Linked DNA regions of Homo sapiens: all the other regions are linked to region 2. The links are contacts of gene promoters, found by promoter capture Hi-C in human tissues and cell types (Jung and others, 2019). All regions are on one chromosome and are shown on one strand. The core of a region is centred on a gene start or on the middle of the fragment in contact, and the rest is flanking DNA. Distances in the headings are between cores, read along the strand shown. Region 1 overlaps MCM3AP (minichromosome maintenance complex component 3 associated protein). Region 2 holds the start of ITGB2 (integrin subunit beta 2). Region 3 holds the start of AGPAT3 (1-acylglycerol-3-phosphate O-acyltransferase 3).

Evidence for each region. The method cuts DNA at HindIII sites, captures the fragments that hold promoters and counts their contacts. A contact is called where the count stands out against the background at its distance.
Region 1: a fragment that was not itself captured here is called in contact with the fragment with the promoter of ITGB2 in region 2 in 1 of the 25 tissues and cell types used here (heart right ventricle).
Region 3: the fragment with the promoter of AGPAT3 here is called in contact with the fragment with the promoter of ITGB2 in region 2 in 1 of the 25 tissues and cell types used here (spleen).

What each region holds. Positions count from the first base shown.
Region 1 is chr21:46,258,028-46,260,817 of GRCh38, reverse strand. It overlaps MCM3AP (minichromosome maintenance complex component 3 associated protein), which reads left to right. Exons shown (of 28, transcript NM_003906.5): 15 at 1-25; 16 at 1,727-1,879. Among named protein-coding and RNA genes, the nearest start is that of MCM3AP, 26 kb to the left of the region's middle. The HindIII fragment of the contact is 8,306 bases long and covers 1-2,790 here.
Region 2 is chr21:44,919,457-44,922,339 of GRCh38, reverse strand. It overlaps ITGB2 (integrin subunit beta 2), which reads left to right and starts at 1,441. Exons shown (of 16, transcript NM_000211.5): 1 at 1,441-1,519. ITGB2-AS1 (ITGB2 antisense RNA 1) reads right to left here and starts at 1,305. Exons shown (of 3, transcript NR_038316.1): 1 at 1,013-1,305. RefSeq lists a silencer at 2,791-2,850. The HindIII fragment of the contact is 46,650 bases long and covers 1-2,883 here.
Region 3 is chr21:43,863,862-43,866,639 of GRCh38, reverse strand. It overlaps AGPAT3 (1-acylglycerol-3-phosphate O-acyltransferase 3), which reads right to left and starts at 1,417. Exons shown (of 10, transcript NM_020132.5): 1 at 1,295-1,417. RefSeq lists silencers at 659-978, 1,099-1,448, 1,999-2,358. The HindIII fragment of the contact is 11,781 bases long and covers 1-2,778 here.

The DNA of each region.
Region 1 (2,790 bases), core at 1-2,500, 1.3 Mb before region 2:
GGGAAACCTGCTCCCAGGAGTTGAAGTAAGTGAAACGCTGGTGTCTTGCTGTGCCAGGAGAGTGAGCTTTGGCTCTGCCCTAGGCTGTGTCTTGCACCACTGAGGATGGGCTATTGGAAATGGATCTTGCCTGTCTAAGCTACTTTGATTTTGTGACCAAATGTATTTGATGCAGTCCTCTGTGCTCCCTTGGCTAATAGAATTTTATTATAAAAAATTCTCTTTTATATGAGGGCTGCCACCACATGATCATAGTCAGCCATCCTTATTAGCCACTGGCATTTATCATATATTTGAGACACTTCCAATTGATTGCACAAGTCAGATGTTGCTGATGAGAAGATTTTGTGGTTGTCTGCATGGTAATTTACAAATTCTACGCCAGGCACCTGTAGTCCCAGCAACTCAAGAGACTGAGGTGCAAAGATCACTTAAGCTCAGAAGTTCCAGGTAGTGTGCTATGACTGCACCTGTGGTGGCCACTGTACTCCAGCCTGGGCAACATAGTGAGACCCTGTCTCTAAAATAATTAAAAATTCTGACTATTTTATTAAGATAAAGGTTTATTTCTTAACTGTTACGAGGGCCCCTATGGACCTATAATTTGGCACCCTGTTCCACTTAATTCTTTTTACCCTGTCTTTCTAGGTGTCTGTAGTTTAAGTATTAAAGCTTCTTTTACAATGAAGATAGAATTACATTTTAATACTGAGGATGCAGACTCTTGCACTTTTTTTTTTTAAAGACGGAGTCTTGCTCTGTCGCCCACACTGGAGTGCAGTGGCGTGATCTGGGTTCACTGCAACCTCTGCCTCCTGGGTTCAAGCGATTCTCCTAGCTCAGCCTCCCAAGTAGCTGGAATTACAGGCATGCACCGCCATGCCCAGCTAATTTTTTTTTTTTTTTTTTTTTTGAAATGGAGTTTTACTCTGTTACCCAAGCTGGAGTGCAGTGGTGCCATCTCGGCTCACTGCAAGCTCCGCCTCCCGGGTTCACGCCATTCTCAGCCTCCTGAGTAGCTGGGACTACAGGAGCCTGCCAATATGCCTGGCTAATTTTTCATATTTTTAGTAGAGACGGGGTTTCACCGTGTTAGCCAGGATAGTCTCGATCTCCTGACCTCGTGATCCGCCTGCCCTGGCCTCCCAAAGTGCTGGGATTACAGGCATGAGCCACCGTGCCTGGCCGCCAGCTAATTTTTTGTATTTTTAGTAGAGACGGGGTTCTACCATGATGGCCAAGCTGGTTTCGAACTCCTGACCTGAAGTGATTTGCCTGCTTTGGCCTCGCAAAGAGCTAGGATTACAGGTGTAAGCCACTGTGCCTGGCCGACTCTTGCACTTTTCTTTTTTTTTTTTTTTTGAGACGGAGTCTCGCTCTGTCGTCCAGGCTGGAGTGCAGTGGCGCGATCTCTGCTCACTGCAAGCTCTGCCTCCCGGCTTCACGTCATTCTCCTGCTTCAGCCTCCCGAGTAGCTGGGACTACAGGCGCCCGCCACCACACCAGGCTAATTTTTTTGTATTTTTAGTAGAGACAGGGTTTCACCATGTTAGCCAGGATGGTCTGGATCTCTTGACCTCATGATCCACCCGCTTCGGCCTTCCAAAGTGCTGGGATTACAGGCGTGAGCCACCGCGCCTGACTGACTCTTGCACTTTTCAAGCAAGCCCTCAGTGTCTGTGGGCCCCAAGTGCAGTGTCTTCCATGCTGATTGCCCTGTTTCTAGGAATGCAGTAGAGACAGACCAGAGGGTCCGTGTGGCCCGTTGCTGTGAGGATGTCTGTGCCCACTTAGTGGACTTGTTTCTCGTGGAGGAAATCTTCCAGACTGCAAAGGAGACCCTCCAGGAGCTTCAGTGCTTCTGCAAGTATCTACAGCGGTGAGTCCTGTGTTCCTACAGGCAAAATCCACACACACGGGGAAGAGTCTTTTAACAAATTCAAAATATATGAGCTATTAGTTTCTGTATTCAGTGGTAAAAGGATGAGGGAAAATGTTATAGCAATGAATACCTAAAATAGACTAATTGGATTATACTGCATTTCAGAAATACTTGATTACACACACACACACACACACATACAATATAAGGGGAAAAGTCAGGAGTTAGATTGGGACGTGGTGGCTACTCTGTATGTCAACTGATATTTATAGGGTGCCTGCCATTTGCCCACTGCACTAGGTGCTGGGAGACAGCTATGAACAAGCCAGATTATGGCTGCATGCACCAATAAGGGTGAATTCTCAAAATATAAGTAGTGGAGAAAAAGCAATTAATAGGGAATATACAAATAGTGTATATTCAAACTAAATAGGTTGTTTCAGATTTATATATAGTGGTATAACCCTAAAGAAAAGAAGGAAAATAATGATCATAATCTCAGCATAGTGGTTACTTTTGGGAATGGGAGGTGGTGCCTCTCATGGCCACAACTTCTCAACTGGGTGTAAGTGCACAGGTGCTTGATGATTTATTAATCTTATAACTGGGCATATATGTGTTACGTATGTTGTATGATTCATTTCATAATAAAATTTAAAATCAGTAATAGTGTCCTTGGTAGTTGGAACAGTATAAAAGGGAGTATGGGGAGAAGTGAGTCTTCCTTCTACAACAGACCCCTGTCCATTGTGCGAGCAGCAGCTGCTTGCGAAACCATCCAGAGACTTTCTGTCCTTTCTTGTGGCTCTTGGCACAGATGGGCTCATGATCCCTGCTTTGCTCTGAGCCTTCCTTTGCTCCATCTGATATGAGGTGGAGGCTTGGCTGTAGCAGCATGCTGAGCTGTC
Region 2 (2,883 bases), core at 192-2,691:
TTTTATTCTTAAGGAGACTCTTGAATTGTTAGCATATATACTTAGATATTTTCTATCAAAATGCCCACTGACAAGCATCTATATTCCTCCCCAGATAGGATGGAACGGCAATGTGCTCCCTGGCCCCTCCCAACCCAGTCCTCTAGGCGTTTTGTTTCACAGCGTTAATATTCTTACCACTATTTTTTAAATCAACAGGTTATGACATCATAATTTTTACTTATTTCTTTGCCCAACTTTGTATCATCTGCTCTTGTATTTCTCATGGATTTCTTCATGTCTATTTCTGCAAGACATCTTTAAAACAGAGTTTAGGAGCCGGGAGCCATGGCTCACGCCAGTAATCCCAGCACTTTGGAAGGCAGAGGTGGATGGATCACTTGAAGCCAGGAGTTCAAGACCAGCCTGGTCAACATAGTGAAACCCTGTCTCTACTAAGAATACAAAAATTACCCAGGCGTGGTGGTACATGTGCCTGTAATCCCAGCTACTTGGGAGGCTGAGGCAGGAGAATTGCTTGAACCCGGGAGGCAGAGGTTGCAGTGAGCTGAGATCACGCCACTGCACTCCAGCCTGGGTGACAAAAGCAAAACTCTGTCTCAAAAAAAACTGAAAACATAAAAATAAATAAATAAATAAAACAGAGTTTAGGGTAGTAATGTGTCTGAGTCCTTGCTCTGAAGATGTCTGATTTGGGTTTTTTTTCTAGGTATAATCTCTTTCCCTCCTCTTCCTCCTCCTCCTCCTCTCCCTTCTCTCTCTCTCTGAGCCTGTAGTATTTTCCCTTTCGTGTTCTGTGGTATCCTCCTAATGTCCCTAGTTAACAGGACCTCATCCATCCATCCCTGGGGTGTTCAGTGGCCTCGCAATCCACGTCCCCGCCCAGATCCGCAGCCTTCCTCCTGTGACCTGAGTGTCTCCTCCTCGCTGTCCCTGTTCTGTCCCCTCCCGCCCTCACATGCAGGTGGATGTCAATGCGTGCACGCACCCAGGTTTTCTTGCCTGTTCCCACCTCTTTATCCTCCTTGGCTGGTTCCTCCGCTCCATTCTCTGGCTCAGGAATTTGCTCCCCAGGGTTTTTCATTCCGCTCTGTAGCAGAATGTGCTACTGTTGCTTTCCAGCATCAAACTTTTCACTCCCATGGCCTCTGTGTTCTTCTTCCTAATGGGTGCCCTTTCTGCCTGGCGCTCCTGGAGGCCGGGCCCCTCTCCCAAGTGTGAATCTGATGGAAGCAGGTCCTTCTCGCCGGGACCTCATGTGAGAAATGACATGTCCCACCTGTCTCAAGGGGCCGCTCTCTGACATCAGAGCTGCTGTAGAGCGGAGAGGGGCAGGGGTGAAGGGCCACGGTGGTGCAACCCACCACTTCCTCCAAGGAGGAGCTGAGAGGAACAGGAAGTGTCAGGACTTTACGACCCGCGCCTCCAGCTGAGGTTTCTAGACGTGACCCAGGGCAGACTGGTAGCAAAGCCCCCACGCCCAGCCAGGAGCACCGCCGAGGACTCCAGCACACCGAGGGTGAGTGTGCAGAGGCCCCGCTATGTCCACGGTGATTTTTGGAGGGAAGCACTCTCCTGCCCCAGCCTGGAGTGACCCTGGTGGCCCTGCTTATAGCCCCGGCCCAGGGGTGTCTGGCAGGAAGGGGTCTCCAGACCGTCTGCTCCAGGGTCCCCTTTGAGACCCGGCAAGGGGAAGTGCCTGCCACCAAGAGCAGAGCCACATGGTGTGCTGGGAGCGCTTGCGGCTGAGGATGGGGCCGGCATGGGAGGACAAGGGGCTGTGAGGCCGGCAAGGCCAGGAAGAGGCTGGGCCCACAAGCCCCTAGGGGGACGGCTGGGGGGTCCTGGTGCTCCGGGCTGGGCAGGAGGCAGGTTCCCGGGGCCTCCTCTGTGAACCTGCTGCGCCTGCCTGTGTTAGGCCCTCCTGTCTGCATGCTGCCCCGCCTGGCTACAGCGATTCCATCTCCAGATCGACTCGCAGTGTGTGGTGTGTGATATGGTGTGGTGTGGTTCGTGGTGTGTAGTGTCGTGTGTGTAGTGTGGCATGGTGTGCATGTATGGTGCACGTGTGTGGCATAGCGTAGTGTGGTGTGTGTGTGTGCATGTATGGTGTGCGAGTGTGCGCATGTGATGTGGGGAGTCTGTTGTATGTACATGTATGGTGCACATGTGTAATGTAGTGTGGTGTGGTGTGGCACATGCTCCATGCTCCTCTGGGACCCTCGAGCTTCCCTGCCTCCTCCGTGGGGACCCCTGGGTGACGTCTTGCTGTAGGGGAGCGGGCACCGCTGTGCGATTCTGGTCGAGTTGGTTCAGCTGGTGACCCTGGCCTCCCCACAACAGGCTCCTGGAGGCCATTCCCAAGGTCCTGGTGGGAGGGGGATTGAAGCCACGCCCCTGGGTCCCAGGCCCACCTGGCCCCCTTCCCCCAACACTGCACTCTTGGGGCCAGCCCTCCCCATGCATCCTCCACCCCTGGCACCACCCCTTGCACCACCGTCCCCACACCCAATCCCCCCTCCCCTGGATCTGGGAGCTGGGATTCTGCCCTGCTGTCCCTGTCCATCCGGGGCCCCTCTCCTCTGTCAGTTCCTGGGTGGGGAGAAGGAGGGGTGGCATGGCTGCAATGGGGAAGGGGGGGGATGGCCGGAGAGCTCAGCCTGGGAGCGAGCTGTGGGGGCATAGGGGACACTCGCTGTCACTCGCCTTCCCCGTGACGGTGGCGCAACGCCTGCGGGTTTGGGGGCTGAGGCCGGATTCTGGAGGCTTCACAGAAATGAGCTGCTAGAAGCTCTGGGCTGTCTGCCGTCACCCCAGCGTTTCACCATGAGTGAAGCCCAGCTCACTGCAGAATCCATGCCCAGCTCACTGCAGAATCCCCGG
Region 3 (2,778 bases), core at 168-2,667, 1.1 Mb after region 2:
TAACAGGCACAGGCTAACGCCGAACTCTGTGGGGGAGGAGGATTGGTTGGAAAGAGGGAGGGGGGGCGGCAAAGAAGTGGCCAAATCAAGAGAGTGCTCAGCATCCTCGGGAGACCCCTCTGAAGCTTTCAAACTGAGAAGACGAAGTTCAGCAATTCCTAAGCGAGTCGAGTCGGAGCAGCCGCGCCTGCAATTTAAAAGCTGCAGGATCCTGGGTCCCTCTAGCAGCCTGGGCCCGCCGCCCGCCCCACCTCCCAGCCCCCAGCAGGCTCTCGGCGTTGGCTTTCATTTTTAATAAGAGCCGCATGCTCATCACCCTCTGTCTGGAGGCCAACAGCCCACATCTTTCTTCTACTAAGATCATGTTTCCCAGGAAAAAGAACCCAACTGCTCAAGTATTCTCCTAGACAAAGCTTTTAAAATTGTGCTTTTTTTTTTTTAAAGGTCTGGGAAGCCATTTATAAAAGCATTTTCCCCATGTCACTAAACTTCTCTCAAAGTTAAAAAAAAAAAAAAAAACACTGCACCATTTTTAACTGCCTTCAAATACTAATAACCCTCCTTTCCTAAGTACTTGGGACCAATGTTCCAAGGGTCCTGGGGTGGCCAGGAGTGGGTTTTCGCCCCCACGGCTCTTGCCCCCGGACTGACCCCATCCCCTGACCCGCCCGGTGCAAACGCGCCGCCGGTCTCCGGGCCGAACCCACAGCCAACCCCGGGCCCCGCAGCCCTCCCCGCGCGGAGCGGCAAAAGTGAAACTGCTCCCTTGGCCTGGGCGCGCGAGGAGGAGGCCCCTGGGGGGGGTCCCGGGTCCGCCGCGCCCCGAAACCAGGCGGCGGGCGCGTCCTGTCCACGGGGGAGCCGAGCGGGGCCCGGAGCAGAGTCCAGGACGGAGGGATGGGACGTCCCCGCGGGAACCCACTCGCCCTCCCTCGGCCCGGCCCGGGCCCCTCCCGGGCGCCCCGAACCCCCGGGCCTCCCCGCTGGGCCCAGCGCCACCGAGGCTGCTGCGGGAAGCGGCCGGGGCCTCGCGCTGGACCAGGCCGCCGGGGAGGCCGGGGTTGCGGGGGGCGCACAGGACCCGGGCCCAGACCTCCTCCCGGCCCCGCGCCTTCCCAGGCCCCGCGCCCCGCGGAGCGCGGCCGGCCCATTGCGGCGCGGGGCCCCGGGCGGCCCGAGGTCGGACGGCTGGGGCAGGGGCGACCTCCGGCGGCGGGAGGGCGACCTCGGGCGGCGGCGGGGCGTGGGGGAAGAGGGGGGCGGCCCGACCTCGGGTGGGGGCCTCGGTGCTCACCTGCAGCCGCCGCCACCTGCTCGTCGCGCGGGCGTCCCCGGCGTCGCCTCCGCGGCCCCGCTCTGGCCGCCGCGCTCCTCGGCCCTGGGCCCGGCCCGGCCCTGCGTCGGGGCCTCAGCGAGTGCGGCGCCCGCCGCCCCCGGCCCCCATCCCGCCGCCCTCCGCCCTCCGCCCTCGGCCGCGCCGCCGCCGCCACTTCCTGTGCGCGGCGATCCCACAGTTCCGCCGGCGCGCGCGGGGCGGCCGAGGGACACGCTGGGGGGACACGGGGGAAGGACGCGGGGGGGGACGCGGGGGGACGGCGCGGGGGGGGACGCGGAGGGGACACGGGGGCGACACGGCGGGACACGCGCGCGGAGAGAGGTGTGGGCCGAGGGCGCCGGCGGGGCCGGGCGCGGAGCCTGCGTGGGATCCGCTAACGGACGGGGCTGGGGCCCGGGCTGGGGGAGGGGGCGGGCCGGGACCGCGGGGGGCGCGGGGATCAGGGGGGTCGGGGCTGAACGGGGGGAGGCGGCGAAGGACCAGGCTGGGGTCCCGCGAGGGCTCCCCCGGACCGGGTCGGGGGCAGAGGGGGCCGGGGCGCGGGGTGGGGCCGGGAGGGGCCTCCGAGCTCTGCCTGGGCCCCGCCATCTCCCCTGCCGGGGTCTCCTGCGGGCGCCGGGGAAGTTTCGCGCGCGAGCTCCTGCCCTGGTCGGCCGGGGCTTAGGGTCGCCGTCAGGGGTCGCCGCGCGGCGGGCTCGGTGGGGACGGCCCTGCGCGCAGCGGCTCCGCGGAAGGATCGCGTTTCGGCCCACGTGCCGCGCCCTTGGACTTATTCATAGTTGGCACCCGGCTGGCAACACTGTATCGACACTTGACCGTGGCGGGGGTGGGGGTCGCCCCGGGGCTGCCCTGCGAACCCCCGCGGGCGCTGACGCCGTCCCCTCCAGACCGCGGAGCCCTCTCAGCCCCAGGACAGCGGCTGCCGTCCCCCCTCCCTTGCACCTGGCCAGCGGCCGATCCCAGAACCTGCGGAGGCCGCGCAGGTGCCGCTGTCAGGGCAGGGCCCGCTGCGGGCTCCGCCTCCTGCGCCCGGTACCTTGTGTGACCTGGCGCCTGCTCAGGTCCTCAGGCCCCGGCTGGACTTGCTGAGCTTGGGTGGGCTTCATTTGAAAACCATTTAAAATACCAAGTACTGGTACTGTCTACTGTGCCCCTTTTTTTCCTTTTTTTTTTTTTTATTTTTATTATTATTGAGACAGGGTCTTGCTCTGTCGCCCACCCTGGAGTGCAGTGGTACAATCATAGCTCGCTGAAGCCTTGAACTCCAGGGCTCAAGTGATCCTCCCACCTCAGCCTCCCAAGTAGCTGGGACCACAGGCACACACCACCATGTCTGGCTAATTTAAAAAAAATTTTTTTTGTAGAAATGGGGCCTCACGGTGTTGCCCAGGCTGATCTCGAACTCCTGAGCTCAAGTATTCTCCCACCTCCTCCTCTCAAAG